Linked DNA regions of Homo sapiens: region 1 is linked to region 2. Evidence: promoter capture Hi-C in 16 types of primary human blood cells and fetal thymus (Javierre and others, 2016). All regions are on one chromosome and are shown on one strand. The core of a region is centred on a gene start or on the middle of the fragment in contact, and the rest is flanking DNA. Distances in the headings are between cores, read along the strand shown.

What was found. Contacts are between HindIII fragments. The CHiCAGO score rates a contact against its expected background, and 5 or more counts as called.
Region 1: a contact is called between a fragment that was not itself captured here and the fragment with the promoter of EPG5 in region 2, in 1 of 17 cell types (neutrophils). The highest score is 6.0, in neutrophils.

Annotation. Positions count from the first base shown.
Region 1 is chr18:46,058,028-46,064,040 of GRCh38, forward strand. All of the region lies in intron 1 of PSTPIP2 (proline-serine-threonine phosphatase interacting protein 2), which reads right to left. Among named protein-coding and RNA genes, the nearest start is that of PSTPIP2, 11 kb to the right of the region's middle. RefSeq lists enhancers at 5,714-5,763, 5,824-6,013. The HindIII fragment of the contact is 7,617 bases long and covers 1-5,520 here.
Region 2 is chr18:45,963,520-45,968,917 of GRCh38, forward strand. It overlaps EPG5 (ectopic P-granules 5 autophagy tethering factor), which reads right to left and starts at 3,810. Exons shown (of 44, transcript NM_020964.3): 1 at 3,658-3,810. The coding sequence starts at 3,720. RefSeq lists an enhancer at 3,569-4,070. The HindIII fragment of the contact is 12,390 bases long and covers 640-5,398 here.

The sequences.
Region 1 (6,013 bases), core at 462-2,961, 92 kb after region 2:
ATCTTAAAAACCAGGTAAAATTTCTACTTTTATGTTTTTTAAAAAATACAAAACTCTGGGTCAGAGGAAGAGATGGCTTGCTAACCTGCCATTCCTTAGCATGATAATAAGTACACTTCTTCAACATCTCATGTAGACAATTACACTTGCCTACCTGTATAGGATGGGAGACTCCTGGAAAAGACTCTGAAAAGATCCTCTATGAGTAATTTACCCCTGGAGGTTGGGATTTGAAGGCTAAGGGAGGGATTTTTATGGTTTTTTACTCCATATACATCTGTATTGTTTTGATATTTTACAATAAGCATGTGTTATATTCCTAGTTTTTTTTTGTTTTTTGTTTTTTTGAGACAGAGTATCACTCTGTCGCCCAGGCTGGAGTGTAGTAGCACGATCTCGGCTCAGCGCCACCTCCTCCTCCCGGGTTCAAGCAACTCTCCTGCCTCAGGCTCCTGAGTAGCTGGGACTACAGGGGTGCGCCACCACACCCAGCTATTTATTTTTTGTATTTGTAGTAGAGACGGGGTTTCACCGTGTTGGCCAGGCTGGTCTCAAACTCCTGACCTCGTGATCCACCCACCTTGGCCTCCCAAAATGCTGGGATTACATGCATGAGCCACTGCACCTGGCCCTACATTCCTAGTTTTTTAAGGTACCAATAAAAATGAAAAATAAATAGCTCATGGAATCCATAGGCGGTTCTCTCTGCTTAAAGGCAGGGGTGCTGAGGAGAGGTCTCGCTGCAAGATAATTGTCATTAGGCAGGTCCTGTCACCAGCGGGGTGGGACCCTCTGTGTCCTCAAGGGAATGGTTGTGGCCTTGCCACAGGCAGGTGGCCAGGACCTAGGACCCTGGACACTGCCTGGGAGGCTGGTCCACTTCCATCTGGGTTTGGGTACAAGTTGCAGGTTTGGTATTTTTTGTATTCTATGGTCTGAACAAGTATACTTGCTCTTCTTTTAATACTTTAGGGGGAAATCCTCTTAATTCTTTTTTTTTCTTTTTTTCTTTTTCTTTTTTTTTTGTGAGATAGGGTCTCCCTCTGTCGCCCAGGCTGGAGTGCAATGGTGCGATCTTGGCTCGCTGCAACCTCCGCCTCCCAGGTTCAAGTGATTCTTCTGCCTCAGCCTCCTGAGTAGCAGGGATTACAGGCACGCACGACCATGCCCAGCTAATTTTCATATTTTTAATGGAGACAGTGTTTCAACGTGATGGCCAGGCAGGTCTTTTTTTTAATTTAAGACAGAGTCTCACTCTGTCACCCAGGCTGGATGGAGTGGCACGATCTCAGCTCACTGCAACCTCTGCCTTCCAGGGTCAAGTGATTCTCCTGCCTCAGCCTACCAAGTAGCTAGGATTACAGGTGCCTGCTACCACGCCCAGCTAACTTTTGTATTTTTAGTAAACACATGGTTTCACCTTGTTGGCCAGGCTGGTCTGGAACTCCTGACCTCAAGTGATCTGCCTGCCTCAGCTTCCCAAAGTGCTGGGATTACAGGCGTGAGCCACCGCGCCTGGTCTTATTTCTTTATTTTAAAAGTTATACTTATTTTATTGTTGAAAATTTTTAAGTATAGATTAAAAAAAAGAAAATAATATTTTTCAAAGTGTCTAAAATTCCAGAGAAAACAATAGTTGATATTTGCTATGTAATCCTCATATATTTTCCTAGTGACATATGACTGTCTTCATTTTTTGTTTAATAAAAATGAGGTCTAGGCTGGGCGTGGTGGCTCACACCTGCAATACCAGCACTTTGGGAGGCCAAGGCGGGTGGATCACCTGAGGTCAGGAGTTTGAGACAGCCTGACCAACATGGTGAAACCCCGTCTCTAATAAAAATACAAAAAAAATTACCCGGGCGTGGTGGCACATGCCTGTAATCCCAGCCACTAGGGAGGCTGAGACAGAAGAATTGCTTGAACCGGGGAGGCAGAGGTTGCAGTGAGCTGAGATTGCACCATTGTACTCCAGACTGGGCAACAAGAGTGAAACTCCGTCTCAAAAATAAATAAATAAAATTAAAATGAGGTCTTGTTTTCCAAATTGTTTAATAACTTTCTTTTAAACTTAATATTACAAGTGTCTTTCCTGGTGTTTGTTTTAAATCGTCATTTAAATATCTTTATAATATTATTATATTTCAAATATCTTTCCTGGTGCTTGTTTTAAATCATAATTTTTAGTGATTAGGGACTCTATTTCACTATGGTATTTCACTGCAATTCCTTAAATTTTTGAAAGTGATTTCCACTCATCATTTTCATTCATTATCTAAATTTTTAAAAATTAATTTAACTGCAAAGAAACTAGTCTGTGGATATACTAACACATTACCCACAATTCCACCTCCTTAACACAACTATGACGTACTTTATCATTTGAAACACATTGTAGTCCTAAAATTGGGCTTGCCAGATATCATTATCCTCACTGCACAACAGGAAGCTCAAGTCCAGAGTGGTTAGCTGGGTGGCACTGGACAAGTCACTCATTTAGTCTGAGTACAATAGCGTGTAGACCCCAAATGACTCCTAATAAAGGTAGGAGAGCTGTGGCTGCCATTGGCTGGTGGCCTTGCCCTCTCCATTTTCTGTTCTCTCAGAATCAATCACAATTCCCTCTAAATGGCTGCAGTCTTTGTACACTCAAACTTTACATGGCAGGGGAGGGTGCTGGTCTTTCCAGGCTTCCAGCTTCCCCATGTGAGGCTCCGCCCAGAGGACTGGTTTCTTTGCCCTCTGAGAGCAGACAGGCTTCTACAATAACTTGCTGAGCCCTTTGGCCTTGGGCTTTTCTGCTTAGTTTCTGCAGGGAAGGGCCATGTGCTCACAGGCAGGTGCCTTGTACTCTATAGTACTCTATCCTTGACATCAATATTACATTACTAATTGACAATGACACGTATAAAACAGCAGAGATGAAATGGTCAGTGGTTGGCAGATAAGAGGGAATGCACCAATAGATGCACATTAATAAAAAATCATACAGGAGGCTGGGTGTGGTAGCTCACACCTATAATCCCGGCACTTCGGGAGGCCGAGATGGGCAGATCACTTGAGGTCAGGAGTTCAAGAGCAACCTGGCCAACATGGTGAAATCCCATCCCTACTAAAAATACAACAATTAGCTAGGCATGGTGGTGCGTGCCTGTAATCCCAGCTACTCAGGAGGCTGAGGCAGGAGAATCGTTTGAACCTGGGAGGCGGAGGTTGCACTGAGCCAAGATTGCACCACTGCACTCCAGCCTGGTCAACGGAGCGAGACTCCATTTCACCAAAAAAAAAAAAAAAAATCATATATGAAGTTCATGACCAAAATGAGGCTGCTTCGCACTGAGAAACAATAGCTCTAAGTCAAAGGAAGCAGATGAGATGGAGATTCGGAGGACCTGGCAGGAGCATCAAGGTCCCTTATCCACAAACTTCCTGCCCATGCTGCCCAGGGAAAAGCAATACCAGTCTGTATCAGCCAGGGAGAGGCCTGCCAGCCAAGATAGTGGCTCTGGGCTGTGGTTGGTCACAGTAAAGGTCAACCACTCTTATGGGCAGGAACTAGACAAGAACGCTGATTAAATAGTTAGGCCCTAACATAGGACAGGTAGATGAGGAAACCTGAGCTTGGGACAGACAGCCCACAGGACAAATCAACAGTGCCCAGATCTGGCCATCTGCGGAAGTGCTGACAAAGGCCTGAGTCAATACTTTTTATTCCTGAGAGCTTAGGTCTTTTTGAACCCCTAGTTCAGTCCTTGTAGGGCAGGATCTGGATCTCCTGGGACAGAGAAAACAATATCTGTATTTGATAATAAGGGCTCAGAGCAGATTACAAGAGGTGGGGCCACCAAGGTTTGAAGCAGTGAAGGGACTTAGATGCCCATATTTCTAGGGTTTTCGAATATTTGTGGCCACTTATGAAACTATCACTTCCAACAGCTATTCTTTCAATAGTAACATTCAAATAGAAGCAGAGACCAAGCACTATAGGGCAAGTGTAAAGAGGACACACCATGGAGACTGCTTTCTCTGGCAGTTCAGCTTGCATGCCTCACTCAGCAAAACTAAGCTCAGAAGTTAGTTAGGCTCCTGCCCTTTAGAAGGCATGTGCTTCAGATAGGGATGGGGTCTCAGTCTCCCTACCCTGAACAGCTTATTCAAGTCTTCCTTCCAGCCTTCCAGCCTTGTGCCACACCATCCCCTCCCTGAGAGGTATTCTGAAAACAAAGATTTCCCCATCTTGTTGCATGCCTGGTGCCATTTTAGCACTCTTCAAGGAGTGGTACCCTATCGCACTCACCCAGCCAGACTTGTCCAAGAATCTTGCCCTGGTATGCTAGGCATGGTGGCTCATGCCTGTAATCCCAGCACTTTAGGAGGCCGAGGTGGGTGGATCATGTGAGGTCAGGAGTTCAAGACCAGCCTGGCCAACATGGTGAAACCCCATCTCTACTAAAAAGAAAAAGAAAAAGAAAAAGAAAAAGAAACTTGCCCCAGTAAACCACTTTTTTTTTTTTGGAGACGGAGTCTCGCTCTGTCACCCAGGCTGGAGTGCAGTGGTGCAGTCTCGGCTCACTGCAACCTCTGCCTCCCAGGTTCAAGCAATTCTCCTCCTGAGTAGCTGGGACTACAGGCACATGCCACCACACCTGGCTAATTTTTTTCTACTTTTAGTAGAGACGGGGTTTCACCGTGTTAGCCAGGAAGGTCTCAATCTCCTGACCTCGTGATCCACCTGCCTTGGCCTCCCAAAGTGCTGGGATTACAGGCAGGAGCCACCATCCCGGCAGGTAAACCACTCTTTTTAGCCTGAAGGAGAGTAGGTCAGTCTGTTTCCCATTAGTGTCCTACATCTTTGTTTGCTTCCTTAAGAAGAATGTAGGACCCTGAGGGCAGGAATCCACCTCCTCCTCATTTTGCAGGTCCACACAGGTCTCTGACTTCTGCAAATGTCAGAACACTTAAGCCCTCATACTCAAAAGACAGTATTTTTAGTGAGACAGCGTCTTGCTCTGTCATCCAGGTTGCAGTGCAGTGGTGTAATCACGGCTCGCTGCAGCTTCAACCGCATGGACTCAAGTGATCCTTCTGCCTCAGCCTCCTGATTATCTGGGACTGCAGGTACTGGCCACCATGCCTTGCTAATTTTAAAATTTTTTTTGTAGAGACAGGGTCTCAATATGTTGCCCAGGCTGGTCTTGAACCCCTGGACTCAAGCAATTGTCCCACCTCGGCCTCCCAAAGTACTAGGATTATAGGCATGAGCCACAGCGCCCAATCATAAGACACATATTGAGTAAAACTTGGACCACAGAAAACCTCGAAGTGTAATAGAAGAAATCACAAAACTTTAGATCAATAAACTTGACTGTATAAAGTGTTTTCAAAATCCATATACATATATCATTTTACAGATGAGGAGGCAAAGCTGAGGAAAGCTGAATAATTTGAACACGGGCACACACATTCTTTGGCTTGAAAGGAGCCAAACTGGGAATCAAACCCGGGAATGTCCAGTGCAAAAGCTTGAGGGCCTGAGGACTGCCTCTCACTGTGTCATGCCTATACTGGATGTTAGAACATGTGAATTACACACACACACACACACACACACACGTGTATATATACAAAAATATATATTTTAAAATATGCATATAAATTTACAAGCAAAGCATGAGGAAGAAAACAAAACCATTTGTAAAAGAGGAATTACAAGAAAATAACCAAATGTGCACTCTCCCTGGTGATAAAAACGCAAATGAAAGTTGAATAAGGCACCAAGTTTTGCTTATTGAATGAGCAGAAAAAAAGACAATAGCTATGACTGACAGAGTGAAACTAGCATCCGCACATACTATTGGGAACACTGAGAATAGGCCCACTCTTTAGGAAATCATCCTGGTTCTACATATCAAAAGTTTTTCAATGTCCTTCTGTTAGTTAATGGTTTTTTCAGTCATTCAGTAGGTATTACTGAGAATCTGTCATGTGCCAGGCATTGAACCAGGCACCACTG
Region 2 (5,398 bases), core at 2,560-5,059:
GAGCTACTCAGGAGGCTGAAGCTGGAGAATCGCTTGAACCAAGAGACAGAGGTTGCAGTGAGCCAAGATCACACCACTTCACTCCAGCCTGGGTGACAGAGTGAGACTCGGTCTCAAAAAGAAAAAGAAAAGAAAAGAGAGAAAGTTGGGATTGGTGGTAGAACTGAGGCTGAGGAGGAAGACAGAGGCAAGATCATACAGAGCCCTTAGTCCATGCTTTGGACTCTAGCCTCTGAGTGATGGGAAACCTTTGAAAGGTTTTGAGGAGAGTAACATGATCAGTTTTGTTTTGAAAAATATATATCCAGCTCAGTTTAGAGAATGGGCAGCAAGAATGAACGTAAAGAGGCCAGTTTAGAAGAAATCCTCCTTGGAGGAGGGTTGTACTAGTTAGGATGGAGAGGAAATGCACAGAATCAAAAGAATATTTAGAAAATGCAATTGGCAAGACTTAGTGAATGATCAGATTTGGAGGGTGAGCAAAAGTAGATGTCAAGGATTTTTGGTTTGCCCAAATGCCTCTGAAATAAAGGCCTCTTCATAAACTTTAACAAAAAAAAATTAATGTATGTTTGTATAGGAAAGTTGCCTAAGATGGATAAAAAATATAATCAATTGGTTTTTCATGATGGATCTAAAAGCTTAAGATTTTTAACTTTTTAATTTAGAAATTGTTTTAAACAAAATAAATTAAGAGGGAATCCCCTTAACAGACTTTTTAAAGCATCTGTAACATTCTATCTATGGAAAGACAAAAGACATACAGATACATGAAATAACTATTAAGTTCCTGGATTGAGAGTCAGGATTTCTGGCTTTAACCTGAGTTCTCTCACGAACTGCATGACACTGAGCAATATTTAATCCCCGGAGGCTTTAGTTTCATCAATATCTTGGGGGAAAAAAACTAGAGATTAAGACTTAAGATTCTGCTCTCATAGACAACTAACATTTATGTGTTATGCACTACTGCATTATAGGTTCAGGAATTTTTTTTTTTCTTCACTGGATAGGTATGTTTTCTTTTTTTTCCTGTAGTCTCATCGTTAAGTAGGTTTAGGGATCTTATGCATAGCTGGCCAATGGCTTTTTTCTTCCTCCTGGGCCTGGATAGTTCTTTACCAACCCAATACAATGCAAAAGCATTTCTTTTAAAAATATTTCTGAGCCGGGTGTGGTGGCTCATGCCTGTAATCCCAGCACTGTGGGAGGCCGAGGTGGGCAGATCACCTGGGGTCTGGAGTTCGAGACCAGCCTGACCAACATGGTGAAACCTCATCTCCACTAACAATACAAAAATTACCCAGCCTGTAATCCCAGCTACTCGGGAGGCTGAGGCAGGAGAATTGCTTGAAGCCAGGTGGCAGACGTTGTGGTGAGCAGAGATCGCGCCACTGCACTCCAGCCTGGGCAACAAAAGCGAAACTCTGTCTCAAAATAAATAAATAAAATTCCTGAAATTTGGTACCAAAATGACTTTCTCACCAGAATAACTCCTCACAGACCTGGATACACCAATGTGTCTAACTCCACTACAGCCGTTTAAAAAGTCATATCAAGAAAACGTGGTAAATACTCAGCATGGAATACTATGCAGCCATAAAAAAGAACAAAATCGTGTCCCCTGCAGCAACATGGATGCAGTTAGAGGTAATTATCCTAAGCAAATTAATGCAGAAACAGAAAATCAAATACCACGTTCTCACTTATAAGTGGGAGCTAAACATTAAGTACACATGGACACAAAGAAGGGAATAATAGACACCAGGGCCTACTTGAGGGCAGAAGGTGGGAAGAAGGGAAGGATAAAAAAACCACCTGTCAAGCACTATACTCATTACCTGGGTGACAAAATAATCTGCACACTAAACCACCAAGGTGTGCATTTGCCCATGTAGTAAACCTCCACTTGTACCCTCTAAACCTAAAATAAAAGTTGGAAAGAAAAAAAAAGAGCATCATAATGAAAGAAATCCACATAAGTCATCTACAGTCTACTAAGTATGGTACCTATGAACACTACCCTCCTGTTAAAACCTTGTTCCCATGAGAAAATCGGATTACAGTATCATGCTTAAATTACACCTGCTTTGGAACATCACCCACTTCTGGGGAAAAAAATGTCCTGTACTTGTAATACCATCCTCCTTATTTCCCAAATGTAAACTCTGTTTCAGGTAAGCCAAAATTATGAGGTCTGGCCATGCGGGAGCAGCATTTAATCTGTTCATCTTAGAAAATATATATAAATAGGGTGGGCGCGGTGGCTCACGCCTGTAATCCGGGCACTTTGGGAGGCCAAGATGGGCGGATCACCTGAGGTCAGGAGTTTGAGGCCAGCCTGACCAACAAGGAGAAACCCCGTCTCTACTAAAAATACAAAATTAGCCGTGTGTGGTGGCGCATGCCTGTAATCCCAGTTACTCGGGAGGCTGAGGCAGGAGAGTCGCTTGAACCCGGGAGGCGGAGGTTGCGGTGAGCCGAGATTGCACTCCGCCGAGATTGCACTCCAGCCTGGACGACAGAGCGAGACTCCATATCAAAACAAAAACAAAAACAAAACAAAACATAGGCTGGGCGCGGTGGCTCACGCCTGTAATCTCAGCACTTTGGGAGGCCGAGGCGGGCGGATCACGAGGTCAGGAGATCGAGACCATCCTGGCTAACACGGTGAAACCCCGTCTCTACTAAAAATACAAAAAATTAGCCGGGCGTGGTGGCAGGCGCCTGTAGTCCCAGCTACTCGGGAGGGAGGCTGAGGCAGGAGAATGGCGTGAACCTGGGAGGCGGAGCTTGCAGTGAGCCGAGATCGCGCCACTGCACTCCGGCCTGGGCGACAGAGCAAGACTCTGTCTCAAAAAAAAAAAAAAAAATACATATACATATATATACACACACACATATGTATATATGTACGTATATATGTATATATGTGTACATATGTATATATGTGTATATATGTACTATAATAAAATGAAAATCCAGACTGCACTTATAAACAAATCAACTTAAAATCACTCTAATACCACATGTAGTCTAATACAGGAAACTCAGAAAATTCAAACACTTCCCTACTGTGTGAGTCCCGCCCTGGGTTAATTTCTAGCCATTCATGCCCCTTATAAACAATCAAGACAATAAGAAATAAACAGAGGCAGCACTACTATCATCTTGAACTTTCAAAGTGATCAGAAATGGCACAGCACTAGTCTACTTATAAAGTTCTGCCAAAGGTACCTTCTCCGCGTGGAGGAGGGGAACATTCCCTCTTTATGCATGGCAGGGACTAAAAATGTTCTAGGATATAAAAGAGTAAAGAGAGAGTCAACGATGGGGCTGGAAAGAGAAAAATTATTTCACGGCAGGAAACCAGACCCAGGTGAGGAAAGCCAAGAGAGCAGAAAAGGAAGAGGCCAGTGAAGTCACAGGAGGGAGAAGGAAAAATGGGGTCCTGACAGAGTGTGGCAGGGGGATATGGAGAAGGAATGGAGGAGAAGGGCCGGTGTCAACGGGTGGTGGGATCAAATATTGGAAGGTGGAGGCGGAAGATGCAGAGGGCTCAGGGAACGGGAGTAGAATTGGCTGGGGAGGCCGAAGAGAGGAGCAAGGAGACACAGCACACTGCCAGAGCCTCGGGAGGGTGGGGGAGATCCTCACCTTTGTTTTAGTCCGGCTGGCCTTGGCCTTGGCCCGGCGCTGGGGCTTCACCGCCTCGGCCATAGACCCTTCCGCGGCGCCGTCACCGTTTGTTTTTGTCAAACCCCTGCGCTTCAAGCAACCTGCCCGGTTCTGGCCTCCGGACTGTCACATGATCGAATCTCCGCCACTCCCGGAGAAGAGGCGGTGAGTCGGCGCCTCTACGGGCCGCAACGTAGGACAAACCACTCCAGGACGCATTTGCACTGGAGGAAGGCAGGCCCGCCCCCTTCCCGGAGCCCAGGCCCCACCCCTAGCCCTGGCTCCACCCGGCGCGCAGGTGTCTTGGGTTGCGCTGGACAAGGGCAGCGACCCAGGCTGACCCACCTCCTCCGTCTCCCGGCTCTGCGGAACCTCACTCAGTGCGGATCCCGGGCGCGCTCGCACACCTCACCCGCGTCGGCTTGAAGAAATCCGGAAAGTGGGTTTGCCATTCTTTTTTTTCATCTTCAGATAAACCAGATCCAGTCGGTTAGCCTAAATCCGCACTGCGCGCAAGGAAGAAACCCTGACGCCCATCGGGGTGTGCACTTCGGCGTCCTCTTTTGTAAAGGGGAATGATCACACCTGCCTTTTCGGATGTCATGAGAATTTAATGGGCTCTCCCAGAAAGGTGCCTGGTAGCGGCAGGCATGTCGGTACATGGTAGTTATTAATTATCATTACTGTACAAATTCCCAGACTGGAAAAAAGACATGTGCTCCTAAAAGGACAGGCAAACAGGTAACAAGATAAATAAGATCCGTAAAAGTATTCTTAGTATACATTTTACAGTGTGCTTCATTTGAAATTTCCAGATGTGAAAAACTTGTCCACATCTTCCCTTCCCAGCTCTAGGATTTCTGTGATTTGCTTGTATCCTTATTGTTAGTGTCTGTCAATCCTCCCAGAATGTAAGATCCTCAAAGGCAGGGTTCTTAATTTTGTTGCCTGATGTATCCAAGGGTCTTTAGAACACTGCACGTAGTAGCACATAGTAGATACTAAATAAATATTTCGTGAATCACACAAATGAGTATGAGTTTTGTCTGGCGGTGGGGTAAGATCGTTGAAATGGAGTGGGCCAGGCGCAGTGGCTCACGCCTGTAATCCCAGCACTCTGGGAGGCCGAGGCGGGTGGATCACCTGAGGTCAGGAGTTCAAGACCAGCCTGGGCAACATGGTGAAACCCCAACTCTACTAAAAATACAAAAAAGTCGCCGGGCATGGTGGTGGACGCCTGTAATTCCAGCTACTCGGGAGGCTGAGGCAGGAGAATTGAACCTGGGAGGCGGAGGTTGCAGTGAGCCGAGATCGCACCATTGCCCTCCAGCCTGGGCAACAAGAGCGAAACTCCCATCTCAAAAAAAAGAAAAGAAAAGAAAAAGAAGAAAAGGAAATGGAGTGTATGGGAGGGAGGAAAAAGACCATCCACCCACCTGTAGCATACCCTAGAATAAAAAATCCAGCAATATGGCATGAAAAATGGAAAAGACTTCAGAGATGCAGTTTGCTTGTTTGTGATGATATTTTAATTGAGTATATAATACAATTTCGTGTATTTTGTTCCCAAATCCTCAACAACAAAAATTATTAAGCTACTCAGAATATACATGTACTTTGTATGTCCTGGTGTGTGTGTGTGTGTGTGTGTGTGTGTGTGTGTGTGCATGTATATAAAGTTATCACCTGCAAAGAGTTGGCCAATATAAACAAAATCTTT